Regions from separate parts of the Homo sapiens genome. Here all the other regions are linked to region 1. Evidence: promoter capture Hi-C in 16 types of primary human blood cells and fetal thymus (Javierre and others, 2016). All regions are on one chromosome and are shown on one strand. The core of a region is centred on a gene start or on the middle of the fragment in contact, and the rest is flanking DNA. Distances in the headings are between cores, read along the strand shown.

Region 1 (5,137 bases), core at 1,605-4,104:
TGAATGGCCATCTGTCATTGTTTTGGGAGCCCCGATCAGAGCTTGTGGAGCGCCACCTTCCAGGGCTCAGTGGCTGTGTTGCTCTCCTGAATTTGCTTCTTGAGCTCTAGCTGCTCCTTGGCAGGCTGACCCCCCACAGCAGGCTATTAACATAGGCATCCTTCACGCTCACACCCAGGCGCTCGCTTCTCATCTTCACCCTCTTCCCGGTTTATCTTTTACCCTCAGACTCCAATTCCCATCTTTCTGCCACATTTACATCTCAAGCCAGGCACTTCCCCTGAGCCAGGTATTTATCTCCAGCTGTCCCCTTGAAGCCCACAGACTCCTTAAGGTCACCTTGTCCACAGTGAGCTCTTCTGTGCAAACCAGGCACATGAGCCAGAGAGCTAGCCGCCCACCCGAAACTGGTCCCTGGACCCCTCCCTCTCCTGATCATCCACTATACCCAGGCTGACAGGAAGTCAGTTTTACTGTTTATCAATAAATCAATAAATCCCAGAATCTCTCCAGCTCTAACTGCACCAGTCTGATGTAAGCCACCGTCACCTCTCACCTTGACCACTGCAACTGTCTCTAATCTTGTCCACCTGCACCACACTGGCTCTGCTTTTTTGTTTGTCGGTTGGTTTGAGACAAGGTCTCGCTCCATCACCCAAGCTGGAGTGTAGTGGTGCAATCATGGCTCACTATAGCCTCCAGCTCCTGGGCTCAAGCGATCCTCCCCCATCAGCCTTCTGAGTAGCTAGGACCACAGGTGGGCACCACCACACCCGACTAACTTGAAAAGTTTTTTGTAGAGATGAGGTCTTGCCATGTTGGCCAGGCTGGTCTCAAACTTCTGACCTCAAACTATCCGCCGGCCTAGGCCTTCCAAAGTGCTGGGATTATAGGCATGAGCCACTGTGCCTGGCCTGCCCCTTCAATTCAGAATGAAGACAAACCACCTCACCATACCCTACAAGGCCCTGTGCAGCCTGGCCCTGCCTCTCTGGCATCATCTCACACCTCACTGCACTCTGCATTTCCAAAGGACTTCTTTAGAACTTGCCTTGCTCCCTCCCACCACTAGGCCTTTGCACATGCTCTTTCCACCTGACTGTTGCCGGTTTGTTCGTCTTTTGAATCTGCAATCACTTTCTGCCTGGGGAAGCTTCTCTGACCTCCCGAACTAGGTCAAGATTCCCCAAGTACAAACTCTTTTCTTGCACGGACACAGCTGCAATTTTACACCTGTTTGTGTGATGATCTAACAAGTGTCTCTGTCTTCCCCATTGCACTGTCACTTCTACAAGGGCAGCAGCAGCACGCTGCACTTCAGTGAATGAAGGTATCCCTGTATGTTGCAAAAGCAAAATTGTATTAAATTGTTCCAGGGCGGAATTTATTTGTCCAACACAATTCACATCTTTCGTTTGGGAAGAAATTCCTTAAAAATGCCGAGGCAATTTTCTGGTTCACTTGAATATTAATTTTTTTTTTTCTTGACAGAGTTTCACTCTGTCACCCAGGCTGTAGTGCAGTGGCACAATCTCTGCTCACTGCAGTTTCCACCTCCTGGGTTTGAGTGATTTTCCTGCCTCAGCCTCCCAAGTAGCTGGGACTACAGGCACCTACCACCACTTTGTATTTTTTTTTTTTTTTAGTAGAGTTGGGGTTTCACCATGTTGGCCAGGCTGGTCTCAATCTCCTGACTTCAAGTGATCCACCTGCCTGGGTCTCCCAAAGTGCTGAGGTTACAGGCGTGAGCCACCGTGCCTGGTCTTGAATGAGAATGATCCCTCTTCTGGGAAGCCCACTCTGGCATTTGGGGGCCCAATAATCTTTTTTTTTTTTTTGACAGAGTTTTGCTCTTGTTACCCAGGCTGGAGTGCAATGGTGCAATCTCAGCTCACTGCAACCTCCGCCTCCTGGGTTCAAGCAATTCTCCAGCCTCAGCCTTCCGAGTAGCTGGGATTACAGGCGTCCACCACCATGCCCAGCTAATTTTTTTGTGTGTTTTTAGTAGAGATGGGGTTTCATCTTGTTGGCCAGGCTGGTCTAGAACTCCTGACCTCAGGTGATCCGCCTGTCTTGGCCTCTCAAAGTTCTGGGATTACAGAATAATCTTTAGACATTTCTTAATCGAACCACTGTCTTGTTCTTTCACCTTTTGTTAGATAACTATAAAAAAAAAAAAAAGATTGTTTTGGCCGGGTGCGGTGGCTCACGCCTGTAATCCAGAGACCAGCCTGACCAACATAGAGAAACCCTGTCTCTACTAAAAATGCAAAATTAGCCGGGCGTGGTGGCCCATGCCTGTAATCCCAGCTACTCGGGAGGCTGAGGCAGGAGAATCCCTTGAACCCGGGAACTCCGGTGAGCCGAGATCATGCCATTGCACTCCAGCCTGGGCAACAAGACCGAAACTCCGTCTCAAAAAAAAAATTGTTTTAAGGCCCTTTTCTTGCATAAAGCTTGAAACTCCTATATAAGTAAATTTCCTGGTTTGTATTTTTGTAGAATAATCTCGAAGCATACATAGTTCTTATTTGTGGGAAATTAGAATTCTAAGGCCTTTGGACGCTGCAAAGCCAGAATTTCTCGCGTGAAGAACACGCCCTATAGCATCCTCCCCGCCACCTCCACAGCACCCCCTCGTGTTCACAGCATTGACAAGCATGAATAGCGCGGGGCAGGACAAGGACTACATTTCCAATAAAGTCTAGCATTTATAGTGACGTCAGAACGGAGCGCGGGCTGGCTTTCTAGAGCCACAGCTTTTCCATTGGCCAACTATTGGAGGCGCCTGCGCAAATGGTGCAGTCCCGCCCCCTCCACCCTGTGACGCGCCTGCTGGGCCCGAGCTTTTTCCTGGGATAGCGATGGAGACGCCGGGCGCATCAGCGTCGTCCTTGTTGCTTCCCGCCGCGTCCAGGCCCCCGAGGAAGCGCGAGGCGGGAGAGGCTGGGGCTGCGACGAGCAAGCAGCGGGTCCTGGACGAGGAAGAGTATATCGAGGTACGACCTCGGTGCGGACGCCGGCGACTTCTGGGCCCATCCTCTGCTTCAAGCTCCTCTCAGGTTCCCTCTCTCGGGTGTTGACACTCCGTCTCCTCGTGGAAGTGGAGGAGCCGGGTGTGGACGGTCCCACGAGTCAAGTAAACAGGGCAGAGGAAGACGTCTGTGGTGGAAGAGGCTGTAGTAGTGTTGTCAGGGAAAAGAGAGAGCGGCTCTCTTTGTATGGGACGGGGGTCAGGGAAAGAAGATTTTCTGTTAAAGTGTGAGTAGGAGTTTGACAAACTGGAAGGATGGTGGCAAAGAGGGCTTTCTAAAGAGCGGTGGCAGCAAGTGTGAATGCTGGGGTTCCTGGAAAGAGACCGCAGTTGTGACAGCATCTCGAGTGAGTGGACCTGCGTCGCCCCACCACACGCACACAGAAGGAGGAGCTGAAACGGGGATTGGCGGAAGTCAGTTTGGTTTTAGACCTGTTTAATTCGGGACACCTTTTGGGATATGTAGATGGATGGCTTTAACGGACGGTTGGGTGCCCAGATATGCAGCTCGGGAGCAAGGTCTGGCTGGAGGTGCAGACTTGGGAATCTCAACTTGTGGTAGTGACTGGCTGAAGTTACTCAGGAAAAAGGTTTATTTTTATTTTATTTTTTGAGACGGAGTCTCGCTCGTCGTCCAGGCTGGAGTGCAGTGGCGCGATCTCGGCTTACTGTAACCAACCTCTGCCTCCTGGGTTCAAGCCATTCTCCTGCCTCAGCCTGCCGAGTAGCTGTGACTACAGGTGCCCGCCACCACGCCCGGCTAATTTTTGTATTTTTAGTAGTGGTGGGGTTTCACCATGTTGGCCAGGCTGGTCTCGAACTCCTGACCTCAGGTGATCCGCCCGCCTTGGCCTCTCAAAGTGCTGGGATTACAGGCGTGAGCTACCATGCCCCGCCAGGAGAAAGGTTTAGATTGGAAATAGAAAGTCATGTGTGGAATGAAAGTGACAACACCCACATTGGTCTGGCTTGTGGGGAGCCAGCAATGGAGAATGAGAATGACCAGTTAGCAAGGGCGAGAGAGAAGGGTTTCACGGACTTCAGAAGAGTGTTTAGTAATGTTAGAGGTTGCAGCATGGCTACCATATGGGATGCTCAACCCCACTAGAAAGTGCCCTCAAGCTCCCTCAATCCAGCCCCAGTCATTGGGGAAGTAGAATTTGAAGGAGGTTCAGCAAGTTCCTTAGCATGTACAGCAGTGGACCTGTGAGGCAGGAGCACCCAGACTGCAGCTCCGACTTTCTTTTTTCTTTTTTTTTTTTTTTTTTGAGACGGTCTCGCTCTGTCGCCCAGGCTGGAGTGCAGGGGTGTGATCTTGGCTCACTGCAACCTCCGCCTCCCGAGTTTAAGCGATTCTTCTGCTTCAGCCTCCCACGTAGCTGGAATTACAGGTGCCTGCCACCACGCCCGGCTAATTTTTGTATTTCTAGTAGAGACTGGGTTTCACCATGTTGGCCAGGCTGGTCTTGAACTTCTGACCTCATGATCCACCTCCCTTGGCCTCCCAAAGTGTTGGGATTACAGGTGTGAGCCACCGCGCCTGGCCTCTGACTTTCATTCTGATCTCTCCTTGCAGGGCCTCCAGACGGTCATCCAAAGGGATTTCTTTCCTGATGTGGAGAAGCTCCAGGCACAGAAGGAGTACCTGGAAGCCGAGGAGAATGGAGACTTGGAACGGATGCGCCAGATTGCCATCAAGTTTGGCTCTGCCTTGGGCAAGATGTCCCGGGAGCCCCCGCCACCCTGTATGAGGACCCTGTGGGTGGCGGAGAGGGGAAAGCCTGCTGAACTGTCGCTTCAGGCTCACTCTAATTCTTATCCCCCTCTCTTCCCCTAGATGTGACTCCAGCCACATTTGAAACCCCTGAGGTGCATGCAGGCACTGGAGTGGTGGGCAACAAGCCCAGGCCCCGCGGCCGAGGCCTGGAGGATGGTGAGTGAGGGTGCCCTCTTTAAGTCACATGGTCAGGATTGCCTGGGAATCTTAGCCTGTGAGGCCCTGAGGGGGTGGTCCAGAGGGCTGCAGGCCACATCTTGTTCCTGAGGGGTCTTGCGTAAATAGCAGCCTGTGAAGTCAAAGGACATTGGTCTAGGTGGTAGAAC
Region 2 (5,137 bases), core at 963-3,462, 310 kb before region 1:
ATTCGCAGGAGCCAGTAGAGCCACAGTAACATGGACAGCGACAGCTCCAGTGCTGCCAGGAAACCATCCAACTGATTTCTGTGTTTGCCCCACAGATCTACGAACTGCGTGTGATGGAGACCAAACCCGACAAGGCAGTGTCCATCATTGAGTGTGACATGAACGTGAGTGGCTCTGTCCAGTTACAGTGAGCCTGGGCCCTGGGAGGATGGGCAGTTGGTGACCACTGCAGGCCAGGGTGTCAGGAGGGCATCAAACAGCCCCTGGGACTCTGGGTAAAGAGGAGGAAGATGCTGTCAGAACATCATGAGGAGACTGTGACCTTGTGATCTATCTCAGGGCCAGTTGGGGCAACAGAGTTTGCTGCCAGTGCTGCCATGGTTAGCTCTGACCCGTTGAGGAGTGAATATTCTTTTTTTTTTTGAGACTTAGTTTCACTCCTGTTGCCCAGGCTGGAGTGCAGTGGTGCGATCTTGGCTCACTACAACCTCCACCTCCCAGGTTCAAGCGATTCTCCTGCCTCAGCCTCCCGAGTAGCTGGGATTACAGGCATGTGCCACCAGGCCCGGCTAGTTTTGTATTTTGGTAGAGACAGGGTTTTACCATGTTGGCCAAGCTGGTCTCAAACTCCTGACCTCAGGTAATCCACCCGCCTCGGCCTCCCAAAGTGCTGAGATTACAGGTGTGGGCCACCGCGCCTGGCCGAGGAGTGAATATGCTTAAGAGCTAAGGAAGCGTACTGAACCTTCTGAGTAGGAATGAAGTGCTGATGCACACAGCATCCTGGTTGTATTACTAGGGAATACTGCTGAGCAAAAAAAGCCAATCCCAAAAAGTTACTTCGTTATATAACATCCTCAAAGTGACAGAACTTTCGAAATGGAAGACAGACCAGTGGTTGCCAGGGCTTAGGACTGGTGGAGGGGGCTGGGAGACAGCTGGGTATGGTTATAAAAAGACAACATGGGCAGTCCTAGTGGTGGTGAAACTGTTCTACATCTCAACTGTGGTGGATACATGCCCCACACAGTGATTACATTGTGTAGAACTAAAGATACCCATGAACAAAAACATGTAAAACTGGGGAAATCTGAATAAGAGCAGTGGGTTGTGCCAGTGTTGATATCCTGGCAGCAATACTTTACTGTAATTTTGTAAGATGCTACCGTTGGGAAAACTGGGCAAGTGTACAAGGCATCTTTTGTATTATTTCTTAAAACTGCATGTGAATCTACAGTTGTCTCAATTAAAAACAAAAAAGGAAGCCAAGGGTGGTCATGTCTCAATATTTTACTTTTAAAATCCTGGAAACACAGGTGGACTTTGATGCTCCCCTGGGCTACAAAGAACCCGAAAGACAAGTCCAGCATGAGGAGTCGACAGTAAGTGTTATCCTCAGTGTCCTTTGCTGTCCTGCTGCATGCTGCTTTTGAGTTCCTGGCAGTGGCTCGTGGGTGGCCTCTGCTAGTGTTGGTGTAGTCATATCCTCTGCGTCCCTTCCAGCCATGCTTCCGGGGGACATCCTAGCCGGGGGTGGGGGTGAGAGGGAAGCTGGGTGTCCCCGCTGAGGAGCTCACCTGTTTTTCTTTTTCCCTGTCAGGAAGGTGAAGCCGACCACAGTGGCTATGCTGGAGAGCTGGGCTTCCGCGTGAGTACCAGACCACTTGACTTATATTGCTGTGCCCTCTGCTCCTTGAAATTAGAGCACTCACTCAAGGTGTTCTCCATGATGCTCGATGGACATCAGCAGGGGTTAGGCCTCTGGGTACCTGTGCATATGCAAATCTGCCACTCGCTCAGTTACCAAACCCTTTTGTATCCACTCTCTCCTGGAATCTTCCCAACAGCCCCATAAGGCAGCCCAGATTTTTAAGAATTTCTAACCTACCGAAGAGTTTAAATAGTACAGTAGACATATACTGTTCCCTTAGGTTCACCAAAAGTTACCACATTTGCTTTCTCTCTCTTGTAAATCATGTTTCCTTTTTTCTTTGCCTGTACCATGTAGGTTGCAAACATGACCCTTAGCATAACTACTGGCAAGGCTCCATGGGAAACAGGTGGAGGTGGTTCATGTGTGGGCACTGAGGTGGCAGGAGGTGCCAGGAAGCAGCAGAGAGGGCAGAATGATGGGAAGCTGAGCTATGGGGCAGTCACAACAGTAGCCTTAGCCCACCCATAGAGCTTGAACTGGGTGGCCCTGCAGAGGCAGGGATCAGGTCTTTTAACCCAACACTGACTGCTGGCTGCCCTTGGCCAAGTGGCTGTCTTCAGCTCATGGCCACCCCCTGAGGAACTGGGCAGAGTTCTTAGCTGCCAGCACCCCAGCAGTTGAGGAGTCAGGGCTTCAGTCCTGAAGGGGTCTGCACAGCACCCCCAGCTCACATCCCTGCAGTGATCTCCAAGCAAAGGACATATCGTCCTCACACTTGGGCTTATTATATGACTCACCTACTTCCTGTCTAGGCTTTCTCTGGATCTGGCAATAGACTGGATGGAAAGAAGAAAGGGGTAGAGCCCAGCCCCTCCCCAATCAAGCCTGGAGATATTAAAAGGTAGGTCTGTCCTGGCTCTCCTCCAGGACAGGAGGAGGATCTGTGCCAGCCCGCTGGGGTCGGGCAGCCTCACCCCAGTTCTGGAGACAAAGCCTGGGTCAGTAGTCTCCCAAGGGACTAAAACCCTTAGCTGCTCTCCTTGGTGGGGTGGAGCACAACATGCCCCTCCTTCCACAGTGCCACCCCCAGTACCACTGTGGTCCAGCCTCTCTCCATACCTCTCCATACCCCCAATTCAGCCTCTTCTTGCCCCCACTGGCTTTCCTAAGATGCGAGTCTGATTAGATCTGTCTCTTACTCAAAACCTTTCTGGTCCCTATTTGGTGATCTGCCTATTTTCCTGTTTTGTGACTTGGAATTATTAATCAGGTCACATTATCTCAGTTCCCCTGAAAGTTCCCTGAGGAGCTACCTCAGATGTGCTTCTGTTGCTGGGTCCGGGGACCCACAGCAGACCCTTCCTCTGGTGGCCATGATGGCAGGGGCAGGGCTGAGGTGTGTCAGTTGTCTGTTGTGTGTGTGAAATCAGAATACTGGAGTGAGAGTCTAGCCACCTCAGGGGGTTCTGTGAAGCTCAGGACAGTGACAGTGAGGGCTTCCCAATCCTTCAGATGACCCCTCTCCATAGACAGGTACAGAGCCTAAAGCCCCTGGCCCTATACCCAATATTGATACCAAACCAAGAAGTCAGTTACTTTCTGCTTCCCTCCTGGGAGGATGCCAGGAAGCACCAAAGGGCCCAGGTGGGGTGCAGCAGCATCTTTTCTGCGTTCCTCTTGACTGTCAAAAATGAATTTTAGTCCTTTTTTCCTGGAAATAACATTTCTCTGTCTCTGTCTCTTCTTACAGAGGAATTCCCAATTATGAATTTAAACTTGGTAAGATAACTTTCATCAGAAATTCACGTCCCCTTGTCAAAAAGGTTGAAGAGGTGAGTGTATTTCCTTGTATTTCCTTGGTTGGTAATGAGGAGATTTATTTGCTAGTGATGACTGAAGTTCTTGGCATTCTGAGTAGGGGTGTGCATTAGTCTGTTTCCAAGCTGCTGGTAAAGATGTACCCGAGACTGGGCAATTTACAAAAGAAAGAGGTTTAATGGACTTACAGTTCACATGGCTGGGGAGGCCTCACAATCATGGCAGGGGGCAAGTCACATCTTACATGGATGGTAGCAGGCAGAGAAAAAGCTGGTGCAGGGAAACACCTACTTATAAAACCATCAGATCTCATGAGACTTATTCACTATCATGATAACAGCACGGAAAAGACCCGCCCTCATGACTCAGTTACCTCCCACCGACTCAGTTACCTCCCACCTGGTCCCTCCCACAACACGTGGTAATTCAAGATGAGATTTGGGTGGGGACGCAGCCAAACCACATGAGGGTGTCTGTCATGTTTTCCCTTTCCTAGGGTCCCTCTGCTCCCTGGTGTCCTGTTTTTTTCTGTAGAGCTGGTGTAGGGTGTATGAAACAGAAGACTTGCAGCATGGGGGTCAGGAGCTCTGTCTTGCTCTAGAGCCGACTCCAGGCTCTGTTATCACAGAACTGTGTGCCCTGGGTGGGCTTCGTCTTCCAACAGAGACCTTGAACTTCAAATATAGGCAGCACCTTCTAGCTGAGCAGGGTGGTGGCGGGACAGAGGAAGGCAAGGGCTGAGCATCCTGTAGACATGGGCACTTTGTGGGAATATGGCCAGGCCTGGCAGCAACTGGAACGCAGTCACCTCTTTGTGATGAGGATTTCTACAACACCAGCGCTTCAGACCCATCGCTCTCCTGGTTCCTTTTCTCAAAGGATTGGACCCTTGAGGATCCAGGATCAGGGCAGAGGGCAGATGTACTGAGCCACCCATTCAGGACCAGCTGCTACATGGGAGCCATCCCAATTACTGAACTCTTTTCTCTAGCACTTGGGGTGGTTGGGGACAGAGACCACTGTGAAGTTTGCACACCTGGTCCTACTCACAACCACTTCTGGGCTCAATGTTCAAGTTGAAACAGCATTGGGCATTGGGACCTTTCAGGCTCAGAGGAGCAAACATAGTGGCCAGTCAGACCTCACCCTCCAGCTCCTCCTTCAGGCACCATCCAGGCTTCACCAGCTACAGGCTGCCTTTCTCACTAAAAGCCAGTGCCTGACTCCGACCTAAGACCTTAGCATGGGACGTCCCCCAGGCTGACTGTGACCTGACTGTTGCAAATTTACAGAAGGCAGGGGAGGCCAGTGGGCACAGCAGGCCTGTTTGACCATAAATATGTATTTAAGAAGTATATGTTTAAAGATGGGATTGAAGACATATTTAGCTCTATTCCATCCTGCAGCCCCACTAAGGCTGTGGCTAAAGGTCATGAGGTAAGAAAGACAGTGGAAGAGGAGGCAACTACAAGGCTTTGGAAGCCCCAGGTACCTTAGTAGACCATAGAAAGCCTAGAAGCAGTTCTGTGTAGATTGTGGAATTCTCAAAAGGCACCTCTAGAAATGAGGGACTAAAGACAGAATTCTGTTACTAAGCAGTTAGAGCTGCATTACCCTCCCTCCCCCATCCCAGAAGGCTGGAGGCTCGACTCCAGTAGGTCTCTA
Region 3 (5,137 bases), core at 1,521-4,020, 290 kb before region 1:
GCCTGTAATCCCAGCACTTTGGGAGGCAAAGGCGGGCAGATTGCCCAAGGTCAGGAGTTCGAGACCAGCCTGGTCAACATGGCGAAACCCTGTCTCTACTAAAAATACAAAAATTAGCTGGGTGTGGTGGTGCGCACCTGTAATCCCAGCTTCTCGGGAAGCTGAGGCAGGAGAATCACTTGAGCCTGGGAGGCGGAGGTTGCAGTAGGACAAGATCGCGCCACTGCACTCCAGCTTGGGTAACAGAGCGAGACTCTGTCTCAAAAAAAAAAAAAAAAAAAAAAAAGTACAAAAGCAACAAGAGGCATCAGGGTATAAAATCGGGAAGTGTTCCTCTTTATTGCTGGGATTCAGGTGTGCCTTGGGATTACACTCAAAAGTGAAAATACCAAACTGTTAGATTAGAAGCTTATTACTATTAAAATTGATTTGTGGACTGGGTGCGGTGGCTCAGGCCTGTAATCCCAGCACTTTGGGTGCTGAGGTGGGTGGATCACCTGAGATCAGGAGTTCGAGACCAGCCTGACCAACATCCAACATGGTGAAACCCCGTCTCTACTAAAAACACAAAAATTAGCCGGGCGTGGTAGTGGGCGCCTGTAATCCCAGCTACTTGGGAGGCTGAGGCAGGAGAATTAGTTTAACCCAGGAGGCGAAGGTTGCAGTGATCCGAGGTCACACCACTGCACTCCAGCCTGGGTGACACAGTGAGACTCCATCTCAAAAAAAAAAGAAAAATCAAATCCTTTACTATCAAGATTGACTGAATCAAGTATCTACAAAGAGTCGAGAGTGCCAGATGGAAATACCTTTAATACTTGCATCTTCCCCACACTCTCCAGGGCCTCCGAATGGGCAGGGAAGAGGAAGGGTCATGGAGAAACAGAAACTTAAGCTGTGTCCTTTAAAACACACAAGAATCCCTTCAAGGAGAATACTTACTTCTTGAGAAACTGCTCAAATTTTAAAAATTACAAACAACAATCTATGGTTTGGAAAATGTTGGAAAAACAGAAAAGCATCGGCCTAAATTTAACTGAGAAACTTTGTAGGCTGTTAATTTTGCAAACCACACATCCAGCATTCTTGCTTTGTTCTCTACACATAGACTGACACCTTTACCCCCAGAGGTCAGGCCCTCGATTGAGTTTTACCTCATGGGAATGAGTTCCCAGAAAGACAACAATGACGCTCGCTGGTGAGTCTCTCTAAGCTGCGTCTGCCAAGTTCCCAGAAGCCTGAAAGATACAAGAGTATGTATAAATATCTGCTTCTCCAGGCTAGGCGCGGTTGCTCACGTCTGTAATCCCAGCACTTTGGGAGGCCGAGGCGGGTGGATCGCGAGGTCAGGAGTTCAAGACCAGCCTGGCCAACATGGTGAAACCCCGTCTCTACTAAAAATACAAAAATTAGCCGGGCGTGGTGTTGGGCGCCTGTAATCCGAGCTACTCGGGAGGCCGGGGCAGAACTGCTTGAACCCGGGAGGCAGAGGTTGCAGTGAGCCGAAATCGCGCCACTGCACTCCAGCCTGGGCGACAGAGCGAGACTCTGTCTCAAATAAATAAATAAATATCTGATTCTCTCCCACTTCACAGGAAAATAAAAAATTGCAATGCTCCCAAACCCGGGGCACTTCTAACTACTTGATATGACAGCAAGGTCAACGTGGAAGGTTTTTCAAAATCTTTCGTTCAGACCACAGAGGACTTAAGCAGGACCGCTGCTCGCCAGGGTGCTCAGATTTTCATGCATAAGAGTCACGACCAGATGGCTCATCCCTGAGATATTCGTGGACTGGGAGGCGAGCAGGGAGCACAGGCGAGTCCTGGCGGACAGTCGCGAAGACCCCGCACGCGCCCTGGGCACTCCGCTATCCGGCCAGCGTCCGCACTCACCCGCTAGTCGGGCGCAGGGCTAGCGAGATACTTCGCAGCACGGAGGCCGTCATGGCTACCCTCGCCGCTTCCGGGCGTGCGCCCCTCCACAGTCCGGCCCGCGGTGCCCCCTGCTGAGGTCCGGCAGACCAGGCGCCCAGCGCTCAGGCGTTCCGGCTGCGTGGGCTGGGACGCGCCTGTCCCCGCCCCCGACGCAGCCCCGCCTAGGGTGTCAGCTGCGCACACACGAGGGCCTTGCGTTTCACGCGGCTCGGGGTCCTCCCTTCCGTCCCCGCCCTGTGCTGGGAGCGCGCCTCTGCAGCGGGCACAGTCTAGCCAGTCAGGCCCTAGCCGGTTGGTCGGTCTGCGCCCTCGCGCGGGCCTCGGCTCCGCAGTGCAGCCGGAGCGGCCGAGGGGGCGTCCCTCTGCTCCTCCGAGTCCAAATGTTCATGTCTAGGCAAACGGCCCCGATCTTCTAATAAACGCGTCCGCCCCAGCCTCCCCCACCAGGGTTGGCTCGTCCCCCGCATTCGTTCGAGTCCGAAGCCCGGATCGCATTCCGGCGCCGGCGCGGAGCCCGGCGCTCGCAAGATGCCCAATAGCGCGTGTTGATGAATGACGGAAGCTAGTTAATAAGTCGGACTCAGACTGGCGAGGCAGAGCTGGTGACGGGCGGTCCACGCCACCTGGGCCCCGCCTGCCTCTGCGGGCGGCCCGGGTTGCAACTGCAGGCCCCGCTCGCTGTCCGCCGTCCAGGCGAACCGCCCTTTCTGGGGCGCCCGCGCCCGGGCCCGACCCGAAGCCCCTGCCAGCGGAGGAGCCGGGGCGGCCCAGTCCGCGTGGGGAGCGGTTTCCCGCCGGGGCGATTTGGCAGGTGCGCGCCGTGACTTCCGGCGTTGCCCGGGAGCCGCCTGAGGAGGAGCGGCGCAGGGGATGCGGCTGTGGTGGCGGCGGCGGCGGCCGAGCGCGGGTGGCGGCTGTGGCGGCGGAGGGGGGCGCGGGCCGGCGATGGCGCGGCGGCCCTGAGGGCGCGGGGCGGGCGGCGGCCGGAGGGCGGGTGGCGCGGGAGGAAGCGGCGGCGGTGGCTCCATGGCCCGGGCGCGCTGAGGGACCCGGCGCTCGCCTCAGCCCGGCGGCGGCGGCGGCCGAACAATGAAGCTCCTGAAGCCGACCTGGGTCAACCACAATGGTGAGTGCGCGCAGGGGTCGCGGGAGGCCGAGCCCGGAGTCGGGTCGGGGTCTGGAGTCGAGTCGGGGCGCGCGCAAGTCCTGCCTGTCTCGCCCCTGACGCCCGGTACCCGGTGCCCAAGCCAAGAAGCCGGCGGGAGCGGACTTTGTCCTCAGCGCGGAGAGGCTGGTGAGCCCCAGCACGTGCTCCGGGTTGACCGCAGCGAGGGCCATCTTCGCCCCTGGCTCTTGCTCTGAGTCTTCCGCTGCCCACCTGTGGTCCTTGGAGGGGCCGCGGCCTGGCTCCCAGGAGCGGGCCTTGGTGCCAGCCAGTGCCTTCCACTGGTCTGCATCGCCCGAGAAGTGCTCAGACGGTCCTGAAGGTGAAACCGGGATGAAATCCCCCTTGTGGCCTTTCAGTGGCAGGATGAAGATCCGAAATCTGCAAGAGGGACTGTTACTGCCCCTCTGGATCTGGGGACAGTGCCCCCAGTTGGGGAATTGTGGTCCCTAAATAGGAGGGTTTGGGGGCCCCGGGCCCCCGCGAAGGATCCACGATTAATGCTGAGCTGGGACATCAGGGTGAACTAGGGTTGGGCAGATAGGGCACAGGTGTGTTCTAGCAGAGGGGCTTCTTAGCTCTGTGGCAGTGGCTCCAAAGCACACCCTTGGGGAACGGACTCATCCACCCCATATCTTGACTCTGATACAGAGAGGCTAGTGGTAATCAGTTTCGTCATAGTTCTGCCTTGTTGGCAGAACTGCTGCAGGAGTTGGTGTTTGCTCCCCGGGTAGATGAAAAAAGCGCGCCTCCCCCTCCCCCACCCCACTCTGCTGACAGCACTGTAGCACAGAAATCAACCCAGGGAGACTCCTCCAGCCCAGGGCCTGATTCTGGCCTGTCTGACTGTTGACAGGCAAAGGGTCACCCTGATGCTGTCTTGTTCCTCATTTCTACTTTGCAGTGCGACTACAGGGTGCTACCGTTTTCTTTAGGAGCGAGAATAGATATTTTAACATGTGGCTTTTTCGTTTTGAATTTGGTCCCAGGATGCTCTCTACTACCACAACTAAACTGAACTGATCATGTGTGTGTTCTCCTCCTGCCACCTCTCTCTCCTTCCATCTTGTGTGACATCTTTCCCATTTTTCAGGGACTAGGTTCACGTGTTTCTTTTGAAACTGTTCATCCTGAGTTACCCCGGTAGATGTGCTGTATCACTGTCTGTGTGTTTTGCCTGGCATGGAAGGTGTGAGGGTACTTTCCATATGCCCCCAGGGTAGGGACTGCCTCAGTCCCTTCTGTATGCCCTACTGCATTGAACAACCTCTTCCACATGATGGGTATGTGATAAATATTGGCTAAAACAGGTAAGAAAGCTGAGGTTTTCATAATTTATCAAGATGAAGTTAGGTTTACTGTGCATGAAAGCCGAAGCCTTGAGTTTTAGTTTCATTTCTCCTGTTGATCTCCAAGAGCATTTCCTGATGTGTACTGTGCAGATCTTTCCCTGGAGAACTGGACAAATATTGTAATTATGAATTATGATGCTTGTGATTAGGAAAGGAAAAATGTTATTATGAACTAGTTTACTGTGTGAAGGTCTGATAGAATTTTTATTTTAAAATGCTTTACCTAAATCAGTTTTTGTGAATAGCCTACCCTTCTCCAGCCTCTCTTCTACTGTCATATAACTTGTTCCTTTTTGATAAGCTCCTTTGTAGGCCAAAAGTTTTATGCTATGTAAACATAAGTAAGTCAAGATGCTTAAGTGACGAACTAGGTACAAATGAATAAGAGACTACACTCAGATCAGCAGCCAAGTGCATCAGCCTGGCAGAGCAAGCACAACAGTGGCCCTTATTGCTGAGGGCCTCTCTACAGCCCTAGAATGGAGCATGATAATATCTACTCTAACCACTTCATAGTATGCTTGTGATACTCAGTTGGGAGCGTAGATATAAAAATGCTCCCCAAACTGTTAAGTGCTTTAGAAATCTGAGATAATAAGTAATAATAAAAAGAGGCTGGGCACGGTGGCACATGCCTGTAATCCCAGCACTTTGGGAGGCTGAGGCAGGTGGATCACGAGGTC
Region 4 (5,137 bases), core at 1,212-3,711, 270 kb before region 1:
GGCTTAAACCAATAACAGTTTTATTATTTGCTCATAATTCTGCAGCTTGTCAGGACTTAGCAGGTTCAGCTCATCTTGGCTCTATGGAATCTGCTGGGATGGCTCGAATAGCTTGGGGATAGAACACCTCACCAGGCCTGTGTCTGTGACCTTGATTCTCACTTGTCCGGGCTCTTTGATGCTCTACATGTGGCCAGCTTGGGCCTCTTCAAAACATGGTGGTCTCAGGGTACTTGGACTTCTCACATGACAACTAGGTTTCTCCAGAGAGCCAAAGTTGAACTGCTAGACTCTTAAGGCCTACACCTGGAACTGGAGCAACATTACTTCTGTCATTTCCCTTTGGTTAAAACGGGTCCCAGGTGTTTCAGATAAGGGATACTCAACCTATACTACATAGTGACCAGTAAGAAGGAAAGTGTATTTTATCTCAAGTTCATGCTTGATTTGACTACATGGCTGCGGCTCTCCACAGCTGGGTGCTGCCTGGGTCCCATGCTGGGCAGTGCCTTTTGGGCACCAGCATTTAATTTTCACACTTGCATGGGAGCCCTGGCAGGACTTCACAGTTCTCAGACAGCCACTGCCTGCCCACACACTCCTGATCCCAGTACTTGCTGAGTGATTCTAGGGCTGGTGACTCTGGTACTGTGTCCACATTGCCTCCTCTTGGGTGACAGAGACAGAACATGTTCAATTAAGAGACTCTTGGCAACAGCCCATCTATATCAGCAATTGTTGATGCTCAGATCATTGTCATGTATCTCCTTTGTCAATGAACAAATATTACTGCGCTACTGTACACTGGGTACTGTGCTAGAGGCTGAAGATGTGATGAACTCAACAGCAACTGACATGCCACTTGTAGCTCTTAAACCTTTGTCCTAGAAGCAGGGAGCTGGACAAATGCCCACCAGGCGTGAGTGCCTTCTATGGTCTGCTGGGTTTCAAGCTCCTACAGTGCTTTTGCCGGTCTGATCCACCCACCCAGCCAGCCAGCTAGCTTCATGGGATCCTAGTGCAAGCCTAGGCCCATACTGGGCTCTTTGGGGCTTCTAAGAACTAATAGCCACAGTCCTTTCTCCTGGAGGAATTGAACAGCTAATTTAACATAGAGTACAAACTGTGAAGGAGGTTCAGCCAGAGGAGATGCTGAGATGGCAGACGGTATGGGAACTTCACAGCACAAACAAAAGAGGGCTGTTTGGAAGCAGAAGTATGACAAGCGAAGCAATGCTCCTTGGTTGCAGCCAGCGCTGGTCCTGCTCAGCTGTCAGCCAGAAAAGACAAATAGCAGTCCTTCTGTCTAGGCTGCCAGTCAAGTGCAGATCCATGCAATAGGGAGATGTCTGGAGTTACAGCTGTGTGCCCTTTTCACTAAGTACCTGAGACTCAGAACTTCAATCATGAACAGCTCATAGCCATTACAAACACACATCCCTACAAGATGGCAGACAAATGCCCAGGCATCCTATGGGCTCAGCCATTCTCAGTGATGGAATGCTTTCTCCCACTGTTGGACTTTCAGTTGTCTGATGTTTGGAGAATCTTCTAGCAGTTTAGACTTTAACTGAATCTGTTGAGTTTGATACACTTCAATGAATAAAAGCCAATTTAGATACTGTATTTTTTTTTCTTTGTTTCCAGGCAAGCCGATTTTTTCAGTTGATATTCACCCTGACGGGACCAAGTTCGCAACTGGAGGACAAGGTATGTTTATGGAATAAAGAAAGGGAAAGCTTAACAGCCCTGCCACCTTGCTCTTCTCCTGCTGTCCATTTAGCTGTAGAGGGAATACTTGCTATTTTTCAGGATGGATGCAACGCTGTTTAAAATGTACAGTTATAATGTGTTATCTGAATGAATAAAATCAAAATCCTTTTATGGCTTTAGTGTGCTCTCTGTAAGTATTTTGGCAGCGGATGTATCATTCTAATTTCTGTTTATTGAGTTAATATTAAAATCAGTTTGTATCCCCAAACTTGTAGAGCATCGAGAGCGGTAGGTGGTCCAGTGGGCAAAGCCCAGCCCCAGAGACAAGGGCTCTGTCAGCATTTTTCTCATCTGAAAAAAGGGAATGAGGGTAATTTAAGCTTCTAAAGCAATCGTGTAGTTATTAGGCCCATTTTCTCGTCAAAGGAATTCAGTTAGGTTAAAGAGAAAGCACACTGTGGGCAAGTAAGAAAGCCCACACCATTTGAAACTGTTATTGGTAGTATTGCCCTTATGCTTCAGCCAGCATCTTTTGCAATGTTGCATGGTTCTATTTGGAAAGACAGAGCTGTTCTTCATGCCACAATACCAAGATGTATATATAGTGACACAATGTAGCATTCCACAGAGCCCAGCCCTCTGTCATCTTTACCCCAGAGCGGGGCCTCCCTCCAACCAGGCCTCCCCAGGCAGCACTTAGAGAGTGCCTTTGTGAGCTCTAGGTCCTCAGGCCAGGTGCTGCAGGGTGGGTTTCCAGCAGATGCTTCCACCCAGAATCAAGGAGCTGGAAGGGAGTGTAGGGAAGCTGTGGGCAGGGAAGCCTTTCTCTCCTTCCATGCTGTGGACTGCACCCGAGAGGAGGAGGTGCAGCACATGAGAGAGAACACATGGACTTAGCTGAAGGAATCAGAGGGTTCGCACCTGTACCCAGAAGACACACATTTTGCCACCTTGGTCCAGCAGAGATGTTTTGGAAATACTTTTACATATTGGCCAAGAGGCAGTTTCAAACATGCTTTATGGTAATTTTGGCATGTTCATTGGATTTGGCCCTATTATAATAGGAAAATTAAGTGAGGGGCTAAACTTCGTTAGATATCAGTGATGGAAAGCTTAGAAATCATTACTAAGGCTGGGCACGGTGGCTCACGCCTGTGATTTCAGCACTTTGGGAGGCCAAGGCAGGCGAATCATCTGAGGTCAGGAGTTCGAATCAGCCTGGCCAACATGGCGAAACCCCGTCTCTACTAAAAATACAAAAATTAGCTAGGTGTCATGGTGTTCGCCTGTAATCCCAGCTAGTCGGGAGGCTGAGATAGGAGAATCGCTGGAACCTGCGAGGCGGAGGTTGCAGTGAGCCGAGATCGTGCCACTGCACTCCAGCCTGGGAGACAGAGTGAGACTCCATCTCAAAAAAAAAAAAAGAAAAGAAATCATTACTAAAAGGCATGGGTATATTTTTTAGCCGAGCAATACATCAACTCATGACCACGGGAGCCCTAAATCCCCTCTTTTGGTGGTCTCTCGTCTGTAGGTAACTGCAAAGGGTGGATAACAAGATAATGAGCCATTTTTCCTGTGTTCAGGGTACATTTGGGTCTCAAAACAGTCGGCTCTGGAACAGCCTAAATTCCAGGCAGCACCTGGAAGGGGAGGGAAACCCCACTAGGGTGTGCTTTTCTGTTTGCTTTTTAGGGTGTACACAGAACAGAAAAGGTCTTATGACATTGACTTTCCCTTCTCCTCATTTCACAGATGAGGAGTCAAGGAGTCGGAGTCTAGGTGCTGGGCAGGGATGAAGACCTTTTAGGGACCCCTGGTGGATCCGTGTTAGAGGCCAGATCAGAGCTCAGTTCCCTCCTGATTGCTAGTCTAAAGTTCTTTTTGTAAAGTCAGGTTGACTTCTGCTGACTGCTAAGTCCGCTCCGTTTCGTCCCCATGAGTACTTATCATCTTTTCTGTAACTTAAATTAGTAATTTAAATTCAGTCTCCTTAGATCTAGTTAATTATTGTTTATGGAAGCTAAGTGAGGACTTCTCCTAATTTAATTTGACATTAAATATTAATATCAAATTTCTACTCCTTGCACATTCAGCCATTTCTGCTCCTTTGTTCCAGGGCAGGATTCTGGGAAGGTTGTGATCTGGAATATGTCTCCAGTCCTCCAGGAGGATGACGAGAAGGATGAAAATATTCCCAAGATGCTTTGCCAGATGGACAATCACTTAGGTATTACAGAGTGGCCCTTTGCAGGCTTTGCGTGTTGGCAGAGTGCCCAAGGTTAGCACATGTGTTTGTAATTAGAAAGATAAGGCCCCGTGCGGCGGTAACTCCCCTCGGCCTGCTGTCTGAAGGCACAGATGTTGGCTGCACACCTGGGTGAGTTATTCAGCAGAAGACTCGGCCCGCCCACAGAACCATCTTTGGACAGTCTGCAGGTACCTCTGGTGATTTCCTGCTCATGAGTCGTTACTGCCTGATTCCATGGGGCTTTGGGGCCAGCGACCTGGACACAGTAGGGTTCTGGGGAAGGGTGCGCAAGAGACAATTTGCCAAAACATCTCAGGTTGTTACTGTGTCACTCTGAGGCTCTCTGCCAGGACCCTTTTGGCCATCAGACAGTGTGATGGTTTCCTTTCCTGCTGTAGTGCCTTAGTTTCCCACCCCTGAGATGCTTAATGAACAGTCACTGGCCTTTGGACATCAGCTCCTTCCTTTCCTCTGTGTGTTCTTGTCCTCTCAACATGCCTCTCAGTGTCTTCAGACCTGGAGCATGTTACTCACGGGCCATGTGGGGGCTACAACTTTGATAGCCATCTTTCAGGTCTTCCAAAGGCCAAGTTGTGAGTGCTCTTGGAGGCTCTGGCCCATCAGGGGCCTGGGGGAATTTCTGCTGATCTTAGCTTATAAGCGCAGAGTCAGTCAATCTGCAGTGCTGGCGAGTTTGGAAAATCCGAATGTGACAGGGCTGGCTCTGACAGATGAGATGAAGTCAGAGTTTTATACTGTAACAGACTGTTCATCTGAAAAATCTAGAAAAAGCATCTGACCCTTTTTAGCACGTACTCTTTTTTTGAGAATAATCTCTACTCAGAAATGTGTCTCATTAATAGATGACCCTTTTGAAATAATGAGATTTGGTTATCATTTTTTGATTTTCTTAGAAAGAAGCCTTCTATTGACTATGTCATTCAGCACTAACGATTCTCAGATAATGTATATTTTTCCCCCTCCAGACTGTTCTGGTAATTTGTTTTTATAGCACAAGTAGGTTAGTGCTTAAACTGAATTGTTTTTCTGGGGCTCTCACACAGTAGATGCCTTAAATAGATTAGATAGATTAGATTTTATAAACCCTTTACATCTTGCCAAACTCTACATAAAGCAAATGGGCATGACTACTGGATTTTCATCACCTTATTT

The links. The method cuts DNA at HindIII sites, captures the fragments that hold promoters and counts their contacts. A CHiCAGO score of 5 or more calls a contact.
Region 2: a fragment that was not itself captured here is called in contact with the fragment with the promoter of ESS2 in region 1 in 5 of 17 cell types (total B cells, megakaryocytes, activated CD4 T cells and 2 more); the score reaches 7.6 in total B cells.
Region 3: the fragment with the promoter of HIRA here is called in contact with the fragment with the promoter of ESS2 in region 1 in 10 of 17 cell types (total B cells, megakaryocytes, naive CD4 T cells and 7 more); the score reaches 9.4 in total B cells.
Region 4: a fragment that was not itself captured here is called in contact with the fragment with the promoter of ESS2 in region 1 in 1 of 17 cell types (total CD8 T cells); the score reaches 5.0 in total CD8 T cells.

The regions. Positions count from the first base shown.
Region 1 is chr22:19,142,368-19,147,504 of GRCh38, reverse strand. It overlaps ESS2 (ess-2 spliceosome associated protein), which reads left to right and starts at 2,854. Exons shown (of 10, transcript NM_022719.3): 1 at 2,854-2,999; 2 at 4,611-4,779; 3 at 4,872-4,967. The coding sequence starts at 2,865. It overlaps GSC2 (goosecoid homeobox 2), which reads left to right. Exons shown (of 3, transcript NM_005315.2): 3 at 1-512. RefSeq lists an enhancer at 3,279-3,785. The HindIII fragment of the contact is 3,418 bases long and covers 2,459-5,137 here.
Region 2 is chr22:19,453,098-19,458,234 of GRCh38, reverse strand. UFD1 (ubiquitin recognition factor in ER associated degradation 1) reads left to right here. Exons shown (of 12, transcript NM_005659.7): 7 at 96-164; 8 at 1,317-1,382; 9 at 1,601-1,648; 10 at 2,467-2,555; 11 at 3,405-3,486. Among named protein-coding and RNA genes, the nearest start is that of C22orf39, 8.0 kb to the right of the region's middle. The HindIII fragment of the contact is 5,929 bases long and covers 1-5,137 here.
Region 3 is chr22:19,429,366-19,434,502 of GRCh38, reverse strand. It overlaps HIRA (histone cell cycle regulator), which reads left to right and starts at 2,770. Exons shown (of 25, transcript NM_003325.4): 1 at 2,770-3,063. The coding sequence starts at 3,027. MRPL40 (mitochondrial ribosomal protein L40) reads right to left here and starts at 1,958. Exons shown (of 4, transcript NM_003776.4): 1 at 1,896-1,958; 2 at 1,155-1,238. The coding sequence starts at 1,948. RefSeq lists silencers at 1,884-2,193, 2,484-2,883 and enhancers at 3,168-3,915, 3,864-3,933, 4,174-4,303. The HindIII fragment of the contact is 6,181 bases long and covers 411-5,137 here.
Region 4 is chr22:19,407,289-19,412,425 of GRCh38, reverse strand. It overlaps HIRA (histone cell cycle regulator), which reads left to right. Exons shown (of 25, transcript NM_003325.4): 2 at 1,648-1,710; 3 at 3,833-3,943. Among named protein-coding and RNA genes, the nearest start is that of HIRA, 22 kb to the left of the region's middle. The HindIII fragment of the contact is 732 bases long and covers 2,096-2,827 here.